6 separate regions of the Homo sapiens genome follow, and all the other regions are linked to region 5. The links are contacts of gene promoters, found by promoter capture Hi-C in human tissues and cell types (Jung and others, 2019). All regions are on one chromosome and are shown on one strand. Each heading gives the region's core, a stretch centred on a gene start or on the middle of the fragment in contact. The rest is flanking DNA. Distances are from core to core; before and after follow the strand shown.

Region 1 (3,194 bases), core at 652-3,151, 810 kb after region 5:
CATTAAAAGCAGCAATACAATCCTGAAATACAATGGACATAAACTGCAATGTCACAGTGCATTGCAAGCAAATGAAGATGTCACTATCCACTTCTCTACATTGTGGGGTGAACATTCTTTTCTCAGAATATCTTTTGAGCTGATTGAGAAGAGAGATTGACATAAAGATAAAATCAGAATGCCAATGTCATTCTTATATTAAATATGAGTTTAGTTTAATTCTTACTTTCTAATACAAAAACTTAAATAGAAGTTCTGACACCCTCTTCCTCCCACCCAGTGGGTTGCCTGCATCTCCTAAAAGTACATACTTTACTTGGAGACCAGTGCTCTGTAGTGCTTAGCCCTGCTCCTTCCTATATTTTGCCAGTAGTTCTGACTTACATTCCTTTTTTATAGCAAATATTTTGATTCACCCCCTTTACTATTGAGAAATGAAATTCATAGGTAATATATCCTTCCAACACACAGTTTATCCTAGTATACGGAGGAGGAGCAGGGGTGGGTACTATAAATATCACATGTACAAAACATATACTTATCACTTCTGTGTTTCATATATACATTTTTATATATCATATATAGAAACTGGCCGGGCATGGTGGCTCACACCTGTAATCCCAGCACTTTGGGAGGCTGAGGCGGGCAGACCATGAGGTCAGGAGTTTGAGACCAGCCTGGCCAACATGGTGAAACCCCATCTCCACCAAAAATATAAAAATTAGCCAGGTGTGGTGGCACATGCCTGTAATCCCAGCTACTCAGGAGGCTGAGGCAGGAGAATTGCTTGAACCCGGGAGGCGGAGGTTTCACTGAGCTGAGAGCACACCATTGCACTCCAGTCTGGGCAACAAGAGCAAGACTCCGTCTCAAAGAAAAAAAAAGAAAAGAAGATAAAGAAACTATGCATGGGAAGTTTATATTATCTATGATTATAATCTATAGTGTGTAGAAAGGTTAATGATAGATGTAAAAGAAAAACAGAAGGAAAGATAACTTGTAATAAAATTATTTGCATTTCAATATGGAAATGTTCGAGTATGATTGTACCAGAAGATGTAATGAAGTAGTCAAATGATTGCATCTATATGCAAAACCAGCGAGAATGCAAAAAGGTACAAATGAAGAGAGACTGATAAACGTGGGCACATCACTGACTTAAATACAATGAGCAGCAATGTTGTTGGTGATGGGATTTTTTAAACAACCCTTGATCAAATTCTGGGCAAAATAAGCTTAAGTACAATCTTCCTTGATTTATACAGCAATTACATTCCTAAAAAAATTCAGTTACAACTTTGCACACACACAAAAAAAAACTTTGTGTTTTTACATAACTTAGAACTCGTTTCCAGATTCAGGTAATTATAAACAGGTTTTTCACTTTCATGAATAGCTCATGGTTCAAAAGTCATGTGGAACACAGGACAATTCCTTGATGTCCAGGACTGTATCATGCATTTCATTATGTCTGGCATCCCTCCCCGACCCCAAATGCCAGCAACAACCCCTATCATTATGATGACCACATGTGTACACATTCACACATAGACACACACACTTCCAAAATATGCCCTCAGCAGCAGTACCCCTTGCACAGAGATTGAGGACTAGGCTTTCATTCCTGGTGTATCAAGAATCTCTACAGCGGCCAGATACAGTGGCTCACGCCTGTAATCCCAGCACTTTGGGAGGCCAAGGTGAGCAGATCACATGAGGGGAGGAGTTCAAGACCAGCCTGGGCAACATGGTGAAACCCCATCTCTACTAAAAAACACAAAATTTAGCCAGGCGTGGTGGCATGTGCCTGTAACCCCAACTACTCAGGAGGATGAGGCATGAGAATCCCTTGAACCTAGGAGGTGGAGGTTGCAGTCAGCCGAGATTGTGCCACTGTACCCTAGCCTGGACGACAGAGCGTAGGAAAAAATCTTGTCAGCATGTCCCTGGTAACACCTTGGGTAGTCCTTTTGTAAATTAGATTTTAATCTCAGCAAGGTTAGGTCTGTCTGCCTTACTCATAGGTAGCTGTAAACCCACACCTAGCACAATTCTCAACACACAAGCTGAGGCTCAATAAATATTGGTTAAGCCAGTGACAAAATCAGTGAGTCACCTACAAGTGAGTCCATGGACTACAAGACCTCCCAAGGCAAATCCAGGGATGCTGGGGTTTAAAAAAATGGAAAAAATAATTCATGCCATCCAGGCTCTCCCAAGTGCTAGGAACTTTTCTAGCTCTCCATCTTCATGACTTTCTTCATGGTAAACACCTAAACTCCGTTAAAGACTGCCCCCAATAATAGCAACTTCCCCCACAGCGGGTAATTTAGGGGCTTGAGACACTGGATCATAACCAGTGACGACACTTCTAGGTGCAAATCTGGGTAGTGTCACTCAAATGCTTTCCAATTCACTCACTGGTGCTATTTGTTCCCCTCTTTCTCAGGAACCAAGAGAAGGGCTGAAATAAACAGTTACCTATGGGAGCTTCATAAAAGCTGCAAATGCTGGTGCAAAAAAAACCCCTCACCACCATGAACAGAGCAGAGGAATGGTGTAGCAGAAACAGCTGTGTCCGACAACGGATGAAGCTGCTGAACTACATCAAGGGCTTGGTGCACCAGCTCTTTTCAGAACAATCATCCCCAGCACCTTGCCAGGAGGAGGGTAGGGATTTGGAGTCCCTGAGACTTTAATTCAGTGGGTGGGATACATTCATTCATTCATTCAACAAATATCATTGAGGCAGGCAATGTGCTAGGCCATGGAGATAATAAGTTAAGACATAGCCATTCCCTGTGATACATGCCATAGAAAATGTACATGTCGGGGGCTAAGGACCATGGACAAGGCACCGTGACATCCAAATCAGAATGGAATGTCAGGGAAGGTTTGCTAGAAGATGTGGCTCTTGAACTGAGCCTTGGTGGATGGTAGAAATTAAATATTTCAAAAGGTTGGGAAGAGCATTATAGAACAACTGGGGGCGTAGTTACAAATACTACACTGAGGTACCCAACTTCAAAACTGTGATCCATGTGATATCTCTACAGAATCTTTATTTCTTTGTTGTTGTTGCTGTTATTTGTTTTTGAGGTAAAGTCTCACTCTGTTGCCACAGCTCACTGCAGCCTCTACCTGCTGGGCTCGAGAAATCCTCCTATCTCATCTCCCGAATAGCTGACACCACA
Region 2 (3,190 bases), core at 49-2,548, 660 kb after region 5:
GTGTCACAGCTAGTAAATGTTAAAGTCAAAATCTGAACAAACTCAAATCCTCTATTCCAAATGCCCAATCAATTAAATAATTACTCAAGTTTGAAAATGTCATACATGTAGCCTAATGAAAGCTATAAAGAATTAAAGAAATAATGCTTGTCTTGGAGGTCTAAAGAAGGTGAGCCATATCCCTGGTGGTTCAAGTGGTTAAGAAAATATTTTAAAAAGAGAAAGTGAGCCCTAAAAACACAACACAACAGTGTCCAGCCCAATCCAGGAAGGGGCAACACTGAACTCATGAACACCATCTAAGCACGTGTGGACTTGAGGCAGTTTTTCAACCTCATTCCTCAAGACCCCATATCCCTCTTCTAGTTCCATTTTTGACAAAAGCCTTCATATTACAATTTGGTTTCTCTAATTCTTAGGTACAACAAAGAAGGTGCATTGATTTGCAGTTGGGAACTCTGTGGTTGCAAAATGGATCATCTTTCAATGTTAAATTAATAAGTTTGCATTCTGTCTCTTTCATCTGGCACTTAAAAGTCAGGTTACTCTGAGTCAGCTCCTGAGAATCCCTTTGGTTCTGGTGCACTAATAACCCACCAGCCTAAGAACAGACATAGACCACTGTGACTTCACAAGAAAGTATCACCTTGTGAAGTTCTGCTTTGGAGACCAGATGACCTAACTCAACAGCATCTTCATCTCTTCTCATTCTAACCACAACAATTAGGCTGTTGGATTTGTGTGAAGTTTATTGCTAGAAGATTGGCACAGTATAGCCCTGCTCTACTAGATATAAAGCCAAGAGGTCTTGAATGGAGAAGCATTGGGAAAGTGTAGGTCTCATTTCTAACTAGTTCATATTCATGGCGAGCATAGGCTCAAAACAATGAATGCCGGATATTCATGTTTCCAACAATTTGTGGCTTCATCAGCAATTGTGGGCTGCCAAAGCTGCAGGGGACTTCCTGGTTTTGACCCATCCCAAGAGTAACAGGACACAAGGCTGATAGGATGAAATATCCAAAGTCCACCCCCAGGATTCCATTTTTTTTCTTTTTTTTTTTTTGAGACAGAGTTTTGCTCGTGTTGCCCAGGCTGGAGTGCAATGGCACGATCTCGGCTCACCGCAACCTCCACCTCCTGGGTTCAAGTGATTCTCCTGCCTTGGCCTCCCAAGTAGCTAGGATTACAGGCATGCGCCACCATGCCCAGACAATTGTGGTTTTTTTTTTTTTTTTTAGTAGAGACAGAGTTTCTCCACGTTGGTCAGGCTGGTCTCGAACTCCTGACCTCAGATGATCCACCTGCCTTGGCCTCCCAAAGTGCTGGGATTACAGGTGTGAGCAACCACACCCACTGCCCCCCCCCACCCCCACAGGGTCCCTTTTAAGAAAGGCTACAAATTATAATTAGAGGGATGGTAATCAGAAATGAAATCAAACGTGTTGGGTTCAGAAAAAAACAGAAGATGCTATATTAGTGTATTCAGGAGAGGCACTGGGAGAAATAGACAAAATAAGAAAGAGAAAGGAGCAAAATGGATATGTTTTTGTGGCTGCAGAGTAAGAAGAACCAAGAGGTCATTTGGAGCTCACTTACATGGAACAGAATGTACAGTGGGACTAAGATTGCAGGGACCGTGTCCAGCGTCCCAGTTACAGCACCGTCTCTTTGTAGTAATGACACAAAGACTATGTAGTAAATAATAATTAAGGATGAAAGACGAGCTGTGGACAAAGGGTGAGATCAGGAGGGAAATAGGCTTTGGTTGTAAATAAAAGACACATATTCACATTTGCCCTAATGATGGTTCCCACGTGCCGTGGATCTTCAGGAACAGCCTTCCTTTTATGTAATTTTATGCTTCTCCGTAAAAATTATTTGTAAAATGTTTAATTAAATGTGATTTAAATTCTATAATTTTCTGAGGTATATCATATATATTAATTTGAAAATTTAAAAATCCACCTATAATTTGCCTTTTTAGGGTTTATGAAATATAGTAACTATAACCATCTTTGCTGTTACGCTAATAATTAAAGATCTAGACTAAGTATGTGTATGGAAAATATGTTTTATAAATCACATGGAAAACACATTCTATTCACCTTGATTTAATCTTTGTAGGAGATTGGTCAGAGTGGTGGGAGAAACTATAGGGAAAGGATGCAAACCTTCTGAAAGTTCAGAAGGCTCTGCATAGCTTCAGGGGAGAATAAGCTGAAGGCAGCTGTTCTCTGATCCTGAGGCAGAGGGCAAGGAGTAGGTACAAGGAGGTGTAGGGGAATTTATCGTAAACAGGCTTGTTTACTTAGGTTGTCCAGAAACCGACCTTTGATAATCTGTGCACATGACTGCTCCCTGAAAAGGGGAACAATAATGTTAATTACCCGCAGATTGTGTTTGCTCCAGGCTTTCGGCATTATGTCTGTACTGAATAAAAGCAAGCAGCTTCAGCTGTTCGCAGCTGCTCTCTTCTTTGGCCCTAAGTGCCGGCAGACCCCTAGCTGCTCTTACACTGCACGCCTGTGTTGTCAGTACTCCCTTCATCCGACGCTCGGCCAGGGTCTGCAGGACAGACCTGGCAAATCTTCAGCAAAAATCCATCACCAGAGTTCCTACTGGATGTTTCCCCCACAAACACACAGACACTACGATGTTCTACTGCCACTGTAACAAAGTGACATGCATTTCATGGCTCAAAATAACACAAAACACGAATGTACTATCTTACTGTTCTCTATTTCAGAAATCTGACTTGGGACTCAGTGTACTAAAATCAAAGTGTTGGAGGTCCTGGGGGGGATTTGTTTTATTGCCAAACTTTTCCAGCTTTCAGAGGCTGCTCACATTCCTGGGCTTGTCCACCATTTCCATCTTCACCATCAGCCATCTCGTCACCCTTAACTCTGCCTTCATCACATCTCCTTCGCCAACACTGACTGAATCTTCTACTTCCCTCTTCCACCTTTTTTTTTTTTTTTTTGAGACGGAGTCTTGCTCTGTCACCCAGGCTGGAGTGCAGTGACGCGATCTTGGCTCACTGCAACCTCCACCTCCCAGGTTCAAGCCATTCTCCTGCCTCAGCCTCCGGAGTAGCTGGGATTACAGGTGTGCAGGCATGCAGGCATGCAGGCATGTGCCACCATGCCCAGCTAATTTTTGTGGGGTTTTTTGTTTGTTTGTTTGT
Region 3 (3,341 bases), core at 1-2,500, 630 kb after region 5:
TCCTGATCTATGGTTTGCTTTATCTTTCTACTAGAAGGGGCTGTTTTACAGAAGGAAACCAAGGGAAAGGAAAATTCTAAGAGTTAGTGATACATAGGGGAGAGCACCGGACTGAAAGTCAGAAAACCTCAGCATCAGCCCCAGAGCTACCCCTGATTACTGAGTGACTATAATAAAGTAACTTGCCTGTAGACTTTTCCTTCATCATCTATAGAATGCAGAAAAACTGTATTATATCCAAAATCGCTTTTGTACGTGACACTGAACATTTACATTATCTGAACACAGATCATGAAATGCCATCTTTTTAACTACCTAGTAATCATTTTCTTCTCTCCATGAATTTCTATTATTATGGGAGAGGATATACTCATAATACAAACTACTGATGGAGAAAACATTAATGGTGTTCAACTGCCTGAGAATGTTGCAAAATGTCTTATGTTATTAAAAAACTAAACCTTTTTATTTCATTATTTTGTTTCTAAATTGGCTCTGCTTTTTTTCTTCATGAAGTGACAAGGTTAATAAAAAAAAGCAGGCTGAGGGTGATTTTATACTTTCTTATAAAGACTTTCAAAAGATAGCTAATGGCATAGCTGTTGGATAGAAGTTTACTTAGGTTTCTCTCAAAGAATCATTTATCACATAATGACTTGCTTCCCAGATCTTATGCACGAAAGCAGAGAATTCTAGACTTGCTGTACAGCTTGACAACTGCAAACTGGCCACTGATGACTTTAAGTCAAAGTAAGTTTAATTTAATTTTATTTTATTTATTTATTTTGAGATGGAGTTTCACTCTTGTCACCCAGGCTAGAGCTCAATGGTGCTATCTCAGCTCACTGCAACCTCTGCCTCCTGGGTTCAAGTGGTTCTCCTGCCTCAGCCTCCTGAGTAGCCGGGATTACAGGCAGGCGTGCACCGCCACACCTAGCTAATTTTTGTATTTTTAGTAGAGACAGGGTTTCACCATGTGGGCCAGGTTGGTCTCGAACTCCTGACCTCAGGTGATCTGCCCGCCTTGGCCTCCCAAAGTGCTGGGATTACAGGCATGAGCCACCACGCCCGGCTTTAATTTTAATTTGAAAATAACTTATGGCTCTCTCTCTCTCAATCTCTCTCTCTCACACACACACACACACACAAATATTCTCTATATAATATTTTAAAGTTAAGAATGTTTTAAAAGCTTGAATTTATCATTACTTAGGAATTAAGAGAAATTATGCACATGGCTTCCTGAAGTCCGTGTGTCGATCCTCCATGTATCCCCACACTTTGCACAGCGTTCAGCAAAGTAAGCGTTGGATTTCTCTTTTGCTGTGAAAGGTACGAGAGTGAACTGTCCCTTCGCCAGCTGTTAGAGGCTGACATCAGCAGCCTGCATGGGATCCTGGAGGAACTGACCCTGTGCAAATCTGATCTGGAGGCCCATGTGGAGTCTCTGAAGGAAGATCTCCTTTGCCTTAAGAAAAACCATGAAGAGGTAAGGAAAGTGGCAACTCCGCTGAAGGACTCCGAGAGTAACGTACTTACATTGACAGATGATCTGTTGATGTTTGTAAATCGAATTTGGGCAGATGTTGTTTAAGCTGGAATAAAACTACTTGAGGCAGGGCCAGGCATGGTGGCTCACACCTGTAATCCAAGCACTTTGGGAGGCTGAGGCAGGAGGATCACAAGGTCAGGAGTTCGAGACCAGCCTGACCAATATGATGAAACCTCATCTCTACTAAAAATACAAAAATTAGCTGGGCATGGTGGCAGGCGCCTGTAGTCCTAGCTACTCGGGAGGCTGAGGCAGGAGAATCACTTGAACTCAGGAGGCGGAGGTTGCAGTGAGCCGAGATCTTACCACTGCACTCCAGCCTGGGTGACAGGGCGAGACTCCATCTCAAAAAACAAACAAACAAACAAACAAACAAAAACTACTCGAGGCATTATTACTATTCAACCTGATCATTCCAGTGTGTCTCTGATTTAAGGTGTGAAATAACCCCTAGACAGCGCCAGAGGAAGGAATCAAACTCTTCTCCTGCCCTTGCCTTTGTGGAGGAGGTAACTTCACAAATGGCTTCCTTTGGAGGCTTTATGCCACCCCTAGCTCCAGTCCACAGGGTATGAAAATCAGGCTGAGGAACAGACTGTGAAGTCCATTTCAAAAAAGGGATAAAGACTGTGCACTATCTGGACCAGTGTTTTTAAATATTCCGCATTTATAAACTTCTAAAAATCATAAAATATACAGCCACTGATATATTGATAAAGCTAGAAAATGAAAAGCTGAATGATGTAACAAAGTACATTTGCTCTTTGAACGTTTGTTGATGACAATCATAGCTAACATTTATTGACACCTTACTATGTGTCATAATTAACTTTTATAAGTTAATTATGTGTAGATTGACTCTTCTAGATCTCACAATAACTTTCTGGAAAAATGTCCAATTATTATGTCCATTTTACAGACGAAGAAACTGAGGCCCTTCTAAGTGGTGAAAAGAGATTCAGCCCAGGCAATCTGAATCAAAATCTCACACTTTTACCCACTGCTCCAAAAAACAGAAGTAGAATGCCATTGGATGTCAAATGGATTTTTCCCCACCATTCTGTGACATTCTTTACACCATCCCACTTTCAGGAAGTCAACTTGCTTCGTGAACAGCTTGGCGACCGCCTCAGTGTGGAGCTGGACACTGCCCCCACCCTTGACCTCAACAGGGTCCTGGATGAGATGCGCTGTCAGTGTGAAACGGTGCTTGCCAACAATCGCAGAGAAGCTGAAGAATGGTTGGCTGTTCAGGTCAGTACCCAGATTGAAAAAATGTCAGGCTTACAGACTTCTGCCTTTTTTGAATTCTCTAATGGTGTCTGTGTTTCAGACAGAAGAGCTGAATCAGCAGCAACTGTCCAGCGCGGAGCAGCTGCAGGGCTGCCAGATGGAGATCTTGGAACTGAAACGCACAGCCAGTGCTCTGGAAATTGAGCTCCAAGCACAGCAAAGCCTGGTGCGTGAGGCAAAGGCAGTGTCCGTTGTGTCACTGATAAGTCAGGCCCTGAGATGTTAAGCCCTCTTCCATATCCGAGGATCACATTTCCTTGCCTTTCCCGAGTACTGCCGTTTACCCAGCTATTAATAGAAGCAGAAGTGACAGGTCCACAGCTTGTCCTCTAAGATGCCTTACCTTCACTCCTGGGCTTGAGTCTGATGCTGCAGCAGCCTCCAGAGACAGGGAGGGAGAAGCAGAGCTGGAGAGAAACCTCCGGGCCATGGTCGCTTAAGCATTCTGGCAGGTTTTAATTCTCATTTGATTCAGGCCAGTTTTCCAGGCTCACTG
Region 4 (3,431 bases), core at 916-3,415, 850 kb after region 5:
ATGCCCAATTCTCAGCAATTGATAGAACTACTGGACAGAAAATTAGTGATGATGAATAGAAGAACTGAACACCATCAAACCACAGAATTTAATTGACATTTATAGAACACTGCACTCAATAAGAGCAGAAAACACATTCTTCTCATGCACCAGTGGAACATAGACCATATCTTAGGTCATATAATAAACCTTGTAAAATTTATAAGAATTGAAATTATACTGAATATGTTCTCTGATCATAATGGAATCAAACCAGAAATTAATAATACAAAGTCAAAAGAAAAATCTCTCAACACTTGGAAATTAAATGACATACTTCTAAATGATCCATGGATCTACATATTTAAAAGATTCATGAAACAGAAAAGACATTAGCAAGATGGTGGAATAGGAGATCCCCCACTCATATCCCCCAAAGGAACAATAATTTCATAATAGTCATCAACAGGCAAAAGTGCCTTTGTAGGAGCCTTGGGATTCAGGTAGGAGTTTATAAAGCTCTGGTAGAGCCCAAGACCTAGGAGTTTCATTTTTACAGGACAGACCCACACCCAGTTGGCACTTACTGATCATGGTCCCATCCCCAGACCTAGAAACTGCCCCATATCCTTGCAAGCTTGGCTACAACCCCATTTTCTCTTGGTCCTGCTACCAAAAACATTTGTCAAAGAGGAATTATGCACACTAGTACATCAGAAGACAGGCCCACCAACCTCTGTCTCAGCTATGCATCCTAAAAATATCCTCTAACTCATCCCCTGCCCCTGTCAGCTACAGCATGAGATTAGTCCTGCTTCCACAGGGACCCAGAGGGAGACATGTCCATCTGAGTCTTCAGGGCAGGCTTGCCAATCTTGGTCCCACAACAGATCCCTAAATAGCTCTAAATTTCAACCCCAGCCCCTCTCAGCTGCAGACTAAGCACTTCTGCCTCGTCAGGGATCTGCTGGGAGACACACCATTCTGTGTCCCCAGGGCAGGCTTGCCAATCTCAATTTTACAGCATCCCTAAAACAAACCTGAATCTGGGCCCTAGCCCTTCTCAGCTGTGGTCAGAGAGAAGTTCTAACTGCCCAGGAATCCAGAGGGAGGCACTCTCATCTGAGCTCCACAGGCAGCCCAGCTGACCTGGGTCCCACAGAAGATCCTGAAATGGCCCTGAAAAGCAGTCCCAGCCCCTCTCAGCTGAGGCTTGAGAGTAGTGCTGCGCACACAAGACCTGGAGACAGACATGCTCATCAGTGCTCCTATAGCCTGACCCACTGATCTTGGTCCTGCTGTGGATCTTGAAATGGCCCTGTAATTCAGCACCAGCCTCTATCAACTGTGGTCTGAGAGCAAGCCTGCCTGCCCGGGGACCCACCAGAAAACATACCCTTCTGTGACCCCAAAGACAGGTCTGAAGAGCTCAGTCTCAGTTACAGGCTCTAAAGCAGCCCCAAAACTCAGTTCTAACTTGTCTCAGCCATGGACTTGAGCAGCACTACATACCCAGGGTCTCACTTAGTGATCCACTGGGAGACTTTCCAGAGACACAGAAGAAGCCACACCCACTCACACACCTGGTAATGGCCCATCATCTACAGATCTTGAAATGGACTCTCATCCCAGTGCCAGCTCTATGGACCAAGGTTCTACAGACAGTCCAGTCAACCCAGAGACTACACAGAATCCACAGCTACTACAGCCCCTGGTAACAGACCTATCAACTATAGACCCCACTGTGGACTCAGCAATAGCCATGTGATCCAGCTCCAACCTCATTTGACCACAATCCCATCACCACAGGAACCTAATAGAAGAAGGCCTTAAACTGCCAAAAGCAGTCTATAAAGATTTAAAGAGGGCCAGGTGTGGTGGCTTTCACCTGTAATCCCAGCACTTTGGGAGGCTGAGGCGGGTGGATGGCTTGAGCTCAGGAGTTCAAGACCAGCCTGGGCAATATGGCAAAACCCCATCTCCACAAAACATATAAAAATTAGCTGAGTATGGTGGCATATGCCTGTCATTCCAGTTACTCAGGAGGCTGAGGTGGAAGGATCACTTGAGCCTGGGAGCCAGAGATTGCAGTGAGCTGAGATCACGCCACTGCACTCCAGCCTGGGTGACAGAGTAAGATCCTGTCTCAAAAAAAAAAAATGAAGGAGGTATTTGTGCCTTCAAATGCACAGATACCAATGCAAGACTACATGAATAATGAAGAATAAGGCAAGCATGACACCACCAAAGGAAACTAATAAGGCTCCAGTAACTGACCCCAAAGAAAGGGAGATCTACAAATTGCCTGAAAGAAAATTCAAAATAATCATCTTAAAGAAGCTCAATAAGATGCAAAAAGACATAGATAAATAACTAAATGAAATTAGGAAAACAATGCATAAACAAGATGAGAAGCTTAATTTTTAAAATAGAAACCATAAAAATAAAACCAGAAATCCTAGACCTGAAGAATACAATGACAAAACTGAAAAATTCAATAGAAAGCTTCAACAGCAGACTCTATCATGCAGAAGAAAGAATTAGCAAACTCAAAGAAAGGGCATTTTAAATTACTGAATTAGAGGAACAAAAATGTTTAAATAATAAAAAAGAGTAAAGAAGGCATACAGGATCTAGTCTATCCCACCAAGCATACAAATATATACATTATGAGGATTTCAGAAGGAGGAAAGAGAGAAAAGGAAAGAAAGCTTATGTAAAGAAATACATCCCAAATCTTGAGAGGGATATGGACATACAGATTCACGAAATTCAAAGGATCCCAAGCAAGATCAACCCAAAGACAAACACTCTGAGGCACATTAATGCATGTGGGGCTTAAAACCTAGATGGCAGGTTGATAGGTGCAGCAAACCACCATGGCACATATATACCTATGTAACAAACCTGCACATTCTGCACATGTATCCCAGAACTTAAAGTAAAATTTTTTAAAAATTGCCAAAAGACAGAGAGAATCTTGAAAGCAGCAAAAGATAAGAGACTGATTACATACAAGGGAACCCCCATGAGGCTATCAACAGACTTCTCAACAGAAACCTTGCAAGTCAGGACAGTAGGATAATATATTCAAAGTGCTGAAAGAAAAAAACCTGCCAACCAAGAATATCATACCCAGAAAAGTCTGGGCTTCATAAATTAAGGAGATATCCCCAAACAAAAGCTGAGGGAGTTCATTGCCTCCCTTACAAGAAATGATAAAGATAGGTCAATTAGTTGAAACAAAGGAACTCTAATTAGCAACATGAAAACATATGAAAGTTAAAAAAACTCACTGTTAAAGGTAAATATACAAATTCAGAATATACTACTGTAATGGTGGTGTACACATCACTTATATCTGGTATAAAGGTTAAAAGACCAAACTATTAAAACTAATTATAAGTACAATAATTTGTTAAGGAATACACAATATAAAGAGATATAAATTG
Region 5 (3,325 bases), core at 826-3,325:
AGAGTCGGTGTGAATCCTGGCTTGGGAGTTAGAGCTGGCTCGAGTCTCTGCTCTCTCACTTTTGTGCTGCTTAACCTGGATAAGGCTTTCGCTCTCTCCAGTTGGGGTATTAATAGCCTTTGGTGACCTTGAAGACCATTTTCAGTTCTGAGGGTGATGGGTCTGTGGATGGACCAGAACTCCAGGCCCAACCTGACACCTGAACACTGAGGTTTTTGTCCAAGATTCCGGGGTCCCCTTTGCCCCTTTTTGGGGTAGGGGTGAGGAGTGTCAGGTTCCCTCTCCCAGGTTTGACTCTGAAGGGATGTGCATCCGTTCTGCTCTTACCTCTGGGATGAATGACCAGGGGAGATGTAGCAGTGACAAAACCCTGGTTCTGCTGAGACAAGGAATTGCCTGCCCCAGTGGAGCTCAGGCAGAAGCAGGCTGTCTCTGGGCTCCTCACCTCAACAGAGACACTGCAGAGCAAGGCCAGTGGCCAGCACCGAGGGATGCCCCACAGCACCCTGAGGAGGCCCCGTCTTGGTGCCCAGACCCCTCCATCCTCCCTCCAGTCCTCGGTGCTGGACCAGGCTCTCAGGCCAAGGCCATGCCCACCATGGGCAGACCTCCTGCCAGTGATCGTGGGGAGGTGGGTGAGAGTTGGGTATACTGGCCCCGCCTGCAGGCATGGTGGGAGCCTGGAGAGGGCCAGAGTTCTGGGTTCTAGTTGCAGCTCTGCAGCTTAAAGCAGAGTGACTTTGAGTGAATCTCTACGCTCACAGAACTGTATGGCACACACTGGGCTCTCCATGCATGCCTGAGTGGGCCCATAACCAGTGCTCTCCCCCAGCTCAGCTGGATGAATGGAGCTGCCAGGCCTAGCCTGGGATCTGTGGACACAGGAGAGAGAACTGCTGGGAACGGATCCCCGGCTAGTCCTGTTTCTACAGGGTAGGGGGGGACTCTGAGGCCCAGGTGGGGTCAGGGGTCATACCTGGCTGTAGTGGCAGGATGGGGCTCCCTCCCACCAGCCTGCAGGTGGGGTGCCTGTGATTAGGAGAGGGCGGTAGAGGAGTGGCAGAGCTAGGTGTGGGGCTGTGGTGTTCTTCAGCTGGGAGTGTGGGGGGCGCAGGGCCCTGCTTAGGGGTGCGGGATGGTGCCAGTGTGTAGAGGTGAGTGTGAGGAGCAGGTGGCTGGAGGGGCAGGATGGGGAGGCTGAGGGGCAGGGCTGGCCCTCGGGGAAGGGCCGGTGGGGTCCTTCGCGCATGTTTCTTTGTGGCTAGTGGTGTGTCATCCCCTTTTACAGATGAGAAAACTGAGGACCAAGGGGCTATAGGACCAGCCTGTGCTGTACAGTTGGTAAGGGCAGAGCAGGGACTCAGTGCCGCCTGTCTAGCTCCATGGCCAGTGCTGTTTGTATGGTGCACACACTTCTGGAGATCCCGGGGGCTCAAGGCAGCCTCTGGAACTGGAATTAGATCCAAGAGGGGAAAGAGAGTTATAGGATTTTTAGAACAGAAGGGACTCTGCAGTCACCCAGTCCAGCCTGGTCACTGAGGGGAAACAGGCCCAGAGGTGGGAGGTGGGGAGCCTCAGGCCACACAGCAAGCAGAGTGAAGACAGGAACTCTGCCCCTGCCCAGAGTGGGACATGTGGGATCCCCACAACTGCTCCCCAAGACAGCCCAGGATGGCATCACTGAGCTCTCTTTCAGCCAAGGCTGTCACTGTGGGGCAGGGAGTTCTTCTGAAGGGCTGACTCACTGCCTGGGGACGCAGTTGCCACAAAGCCACCTGTGCCAAGGCCCGACTGGCCCCGAGGGCTCCAGGAAAGGGAGCCTGATTCCCCACCGCCTAGCCTGAGTCACCACCGAACTCGCATTTCTGTGTTTTTCTCTCGGCCCCACACCCCCAAAGCTGGGTGGGAACTCTGAGCCGGCACACAGCAGAGTTGATCCTGGGCTGAATAATCCAGAGTGAGGAGTTGGACGGGACCGGGAGTGATGAAATCCAGAGGGGAACCTGGAGTCAGCAGTTAGGAGGGCCCCGCCTTCCCCAGCTGCATATAAAGGTCTCTGGGGTTGGAGGCAGCCACAGCACGCTCTCAGCCTTCCTGAGCACCTTTCCTTCTTTCAGCCAACTGCTCACTCGCTCACCTCCCTCCTTGGCACCATGACCACCTGCAGCCGCCAGTTCACCTCCTCCAGCTCCATGAAGGGCTCCTGCGGCATCGGAGGCGGCATCGGGGGCGGCTCCAGCCGCATCTCCTCCGTCCTGGCCGGAGGGTCCTGCCGTGCCCCCAGCACCTACGGGGGCGGCCTGTCTGTCTCCTCTCGCTTCTCCTCTGGGGGAGCCTGCGGGCTGGGGGGCGGCTATGGCGGTGGCTTCAGCAGCAGCAGCAGCTTTGGTAGTGGCTTCGGGGGAGGATATGGTGGTGGCCTTGGTGCTGGCTTCGGTGGTGGCTTGGGTGCTGGCTTTGGTGGTGGTTTTGCTGGTGGTGATGGGCTTCTGGTGGGCAGTGAGAAGGTGACCATGCAGAACCTCAATGACCGCCTGGCCTCCTACCTGGACAAGGTGCGTGCTCTGGAGGAGGCCAACGCCGACCTGGAAGTGAAGATCCGTGACTGGTACCAGAGGCAGCGGCCCAGTGAGATCAAAGACTACAGTCCCTACTTCAAGACCATCGAGGACCTGAGGAACAAGGTGGGTGACTTTGGTGTATGGAGCACTGAGAGAGGCTGGGGCTACAGTGGCCCTTGGGATACCTCTTTTTAGCAATTACACTTTACAAACAGGGAGACTGGGCACCTTTGGGGAGTGGCCAGGATCACCCAGGGAAGTGGTAGCAGAGGGTCCCTTTTCAGTATCTCTGTGCCCGGACTGGGGCTGTTACCCTAAATCTCTTATTTCCTTCAAGGGTTCAGCTGCAAGTTCAGCTTCCCTGCCTTGGGCCCAGGAAGGGGGTGATCGGGATGGAGTGCATCCCTACGTAGCCTGAGCTGGTGGAGAAGGCATGCCAGCCCTGCCAGCCAGAAGACTTCCAGATTTGGGGCGGTTCCTTTTGCCCCTTTCTGCCTTTCATGCTCAAGTAGTAAGGTCCTTGGCTGACCAGGGCTCCTGTCCTCCATCCCCACTCCAGATCATTGCGGCCACCATTGAGAATGCGCAGCCCATTTTGCAGATTGACAATGCCAGGCTGGCAGCCGATGACTTCAGGACCAAGTGAGCAGCCAGCATGGTGGGCTGGGGGCAGAGGGCAAGGGACAAAGAGTGGGGCGGTCCACCCAGCAGGGCCAGCAGACCCCGAGCCTCAGAATCCTCAGGGCTGCAGCCTGAGGACCTGA
Region 6 (3,204 bases), core at 536-3,035, 570 kb after region 5:
AGCCTTACTAACATTAATTGATTCTGAAAAGCAGCATGGTATAAAATAAAAAGAACTGGTCTAGGAACAAGTGATAGGAATTTTATACCCAGCTCTTCTGGTTGTGTACTGTGTGAATGGAACAAGCCACTTAACCTCTTCAAGACTCAAGAGTATTCTAACATCAGCCGATGTTAAGTGAAAATGAAAAGTGCTCCATAGCACATCACCAATGTTCCCATTTAGAACTTTGAGACTAAATGGTTCTATACTCAACTCTTTTCCTTGATTAATCCCTCCTATTGCTACTACACTGATTTTTATACTAGAGCAAGATACAAAACAAATAGATGGGATCTTGCTTTCTGTATAAGCCTTTAGTGCTCTGGGCATAGTAGAAGTTAATAAATATGTGCTATTTATAATAAGAATGATGTCAGTTTCTACACCTATAAAATTAAGTGGTGGAACAAGATAATTTACTACATTTTTGATCTCCAACATTCATTGATTACATATAACCATTTTCAACTTCATACCTACAGTCATGGTTACCATATGACGTGAACATCTTTACTGAAGCTGGCATGAATCACATTGTGATATAACCCCATTCCTGTACAAACAAATGCCACCACCTCATAAAAAGCTAACTATGTGTTTCTATTCATGATTGGAAGGGAGAAATAAACCTACCCCAAGTAGAAATAATATGTTTTTGACCAGCCTTTTTTCATTTATCTCACGTAACCCTAAACTCCCAGTGAAAATTACATTCTTTCTTCTGGCAATGACCAGGAATTGTTTTAACTTTTATTTTGCTGAAATTTTTCTTAATCTCTTTGCATTTATTATACTACACCTCTTGAACTATATTTGGTCACCCATTTTCTAACCTGCCTTATAAAGCAGATAAAAGTATTTTCTAACTCTTGCTTTTTCTTTGATTTATTCCCTTTCCTAAATTCAGTTGTCATGCTCTTTGGTCTAATATCTTTTCACAGGACACATGGTTTAGTAACTTGAAATGACATAAATTAAAATTAAATTCTGCCTTTGAAAAATTATATGCCAGATAATCCATATACAAGTGATTTTTGTCTTTCATAGAGAAGTGTAAATTTTGTTAAAATATTTTGCAATTTTTTCCAATTACTGAATATGAATTTTAGCCTCTTTTTTAAGAGACATTGAAATTGAACAGGTTTTGTTTTATATATCCTCCTGAGTGATCAATGTTTCCTAAAATATGAATGTGAAGTTCAGGAGATATCACAGAAATTGGAAAGATTCCATTTCAGGGAAAAATCTATGAATTTCTATGAATATAGAGTTTATCAGAGTTTCTATCTGGCTAATAAGATTATATCGAGAGAGGATAATCTTATTAGTCTAAAAAATACAAAGCAGTCTTACATAAGGGCAATCATGATTAATAATTCTTTTCTGGAGACCTGAGGTTTGGTGAATATGATCTCCAAAATCACATCACCTTATGGGTGAGAGTCACTTTGTCAGGTGATATACCCACAAGTGCAAACCTGAAGCTGAAGCTCAAGTGGAAATTATACCATTGTTTGTAAACAAAATGTTAACATTTTTACCAAGGACAAACACATTTGGTGAGTATTAGCTGAGCAATAAGGAAAAATCAATTTTGAGATATATTTAAAACAATTCAGCATTTGAACCATCAGAGGGCCCTAGAAAGGCTGGTTTAAAGAGTAACAAGATAAAAATGTTGCTCGCCACAAATAGAGGAATTGGCCCAGACTTATAAAAAGCCGGCAGTGGAATAGGCAGCCATAATTCAGAAACTCCTCCAAGCAACCCAACCTTCAGATCAACTCCTGACACCATGGCCTGCTGTCAGACCAGCTTCTGTGGATTTCCCAGCTGCTCCACCAGTGGGACCTGCGGCTCCAGCTGCTGCCAGCCAAGCTGCTGTGAGACCAGCTCCTGCCAGCCACGCTGCTGTGAGACCAGCTGCTGCCAGCCAAGCTGCTGCCAGACCAGCTTCTGTGGATTTCCTAGCTTCTCAACCGGTGGGACTTGTGACTCTAGCTGCTGCCAGCCAAGCTGCTGTGAAACTAGCTGCTGCCAGCCAAGCTGCTACCAGACCAGCTCCTGCGGAACTGGCTGTGGCATTGGTGGTGGCATTGGCTATGGCCAGGAGGGCAGCAGTGGAGCTGTGAGCACCCGTATCAGGTGGTGCCGCCCAGACTGCCGTGTGGAGGGTACCTGCCTGCCCCCCTGCTGCGTGGTGAGCTGCACACCCCCATCCTGCTGCCAGCTGCACCACGCCGAGGCCTCCTGCTGCCGCCCATCCTACTGTGGACAGTCCTGTTGCCGCCCAGTCTGCTGCTGCTACTGCTCTGAGCCCACTTGTTGAAAACCTCCTTCTGCTGGGGATCCTGATAAGATGGCACCTTAAAACTAGCCAAATTAGAATCCTAACAATCTTCTGAACTCCAGTACCTATAACTGGGCTTGCAACCTCTCATCACACAGCCACATAAATTCCCTAGGAAGTAAATTCATTTACAATGGAAGACCAAAAATTTTTCCTAGACCTGGTTGTCAGCCAAAGTCCTACAATGTGAAAAGAGTTAGATACTATTTTACTATAAATATCACCTGAAATATTTCAACAGTTATTGGGACTTAAATTTAATAAAAGTTTTCATCTCTTCAATGATGAAGTTGTTGTTTGAACTTTCTTTGCTTTGGAATTTATTAACAATATTGGGGTACTGGGATTTTTCAAAATATCAACATGACATGACACTATGGTTTTTCTGTACTTTTGCTCTTTTAATGATGATATTTAACAGCAATTTTCCTTTGTTTTACCATTAAATGGTCCAATATTTTGCAGCCAAGACATATGATTAAAGGAACTTGACAACATTTAGGAACTGTTTCCTAAGGTCCTCTCATGTGCAAAGTGGTGGGCTAGGTATTCCAACAGATTGATTCAGCTTCTTGAGGTTTTGCCAAATCTATTCATTCATCCATTCATATATGAGGTTGTATACAATTATTTCTGTCCTCCAAGATATACAAAAGCATAATAAAAATTGTGAAAGAATACAAACACAAGATTACAGAGTAATAGCATGTAACGAATATACACATTTCATTCAAGGTCTAGGCTCATAACTCCCATAGCCCTTTTATTGATGTTAGGGCACTTTACACTTCAGAAGCAGGCCTCAGAAAACA

The links. Contacts are between HindIII fragments. The study calls those that stand out against the background at their distance.
Region 1: a fragment that was not itself captured here is called in contact with the fragment with the promoter of KRT16 in region 5 in 3 of the 25 tissues and cell types used here (lymphoblastoid cells, stomach and thymus).
Region 2: a fragment that was not itself captured here is called in contact with the fragment with the promoter of KRT16 in region 5 in 5 of the 25 tissues and cell types used here (lymphoblastoid cells, mesenchymal stem cells, pancreas and 2 more).
Region 3: a fragment that was not itself captured here is called in contact with the fragment with the promoter of KRT16 in region 5 in 3 of the 25 tissues and cell types used here (lymphoblastoid cells, spleen and thymus).
Region 4: a fragment that was not itself captured here is called in contact with the fragment with the promoter of KRT16 in region 5 in 3 of the 25 tissues and cell types used here (dorsolateral prefrontal cortex, mesenchymal stem cells and mesendoderm cells).
Region 6: a contact is called between the fragment with the promoter of KRTAP1-1 here and the fragment with the promoter of KRT16 in region 5, in 2 of the 25 tissues and cell types used here (lymphoblastoid cells and spleen).

The regions. Positions count from the first base shown.
Region 1 is chr17:40,805,977-40,809,170 of GRCh38, reverse strand. LOC105371776 (a long non-coding RNA gene) reads right to left here. Exons shown (of 4, transcript XR_934753.2): 2 at 1-22. Among named protein-coding and RNA genes, the nearest start is that of KRT28, 7.6 kb to the right of the region's middle. The HindIII fragment of the contact is 4,460 bases long and covers 1-3,194 here.
Region 2 is chr17:40,948,827-40,952,016 of GRCh38, reverse strand. The region is part of intron 1 of LOC107985072 (a long non-coding RNA gene); the gene reads right to left. Among named protein-coding and RNA genes, the nearest start is that of KRT23, 13 kb to the right of the region's middle. The HindIII fragment of the contact is 5,990 bases long and covers 1-3,190 here.
Region 3 is chr17:40,980,455-40,983,795 of GRCh38, reverse strand. KRT40 (keratin 40) reads left to right here. Exons shown (of 7, transcript NM_001389244.1): 2 at 668-750; 3 at 1,333-1,489; 4 at 2,645-2,806; 5 at 2,886-3,011. LOC107985072 (a long non-coding RNA gene) reads right to left here. Exons shown (of 4, transcript XR_001752886.2): 3 at 3,189-3,341; 4 at 1-1,468. Among named protein-coding and RNA genes, the nearest start is that of KRT40, 2.2 kb to the left of the region's middle. RefSeq lists an enhancer at 3,189-3,341. The HindIII fragment of the contact is 6,026 bases long and covers 1-3,341 here.
Region 4 is chr17:40,759,870-40,763,300 of GRCh38, reverse strand. No RefSeq gene overlaps it. Among named protein-coding and RNA genes, the nearest start is that of KRT25, 6.3 kb to the right of the region's middle. The HindIII fragment of the contact is 3,792 bases long and covers 270-3,431 here.
Region 5 is chr17:41,611,517-41,614,841 of GRCh38, reverse strand. It overlaps KRT16 (keratin 16), which reads left to right and starts at 2,075. Exons shown (of 8, transcript NM_005557.4): 1 at 2,075-2,684; 2 at 3,121-3,203. The coding sequence starts at 2,154. RefSeq lists an enhancer at 496-1,044. The HindIII fragment of the contact is 12,932 bases long and covers 1-3,325 here.
Region 6 is chr17:41,040,031-41,043,234 of GRCh38, reverse strand. KRTAP1-1 (keratin associated protein 1-1) reads left to right here and starts at 1,785. Exons shown (of 1, transcript NM_030967.3): 1 at 1,785-2,694. The coding sequence starts at 1,838. The coding sequence ends at 2,371. The HindIII fragment of the contact is 12,161 bases long and covers 1-3,204 here.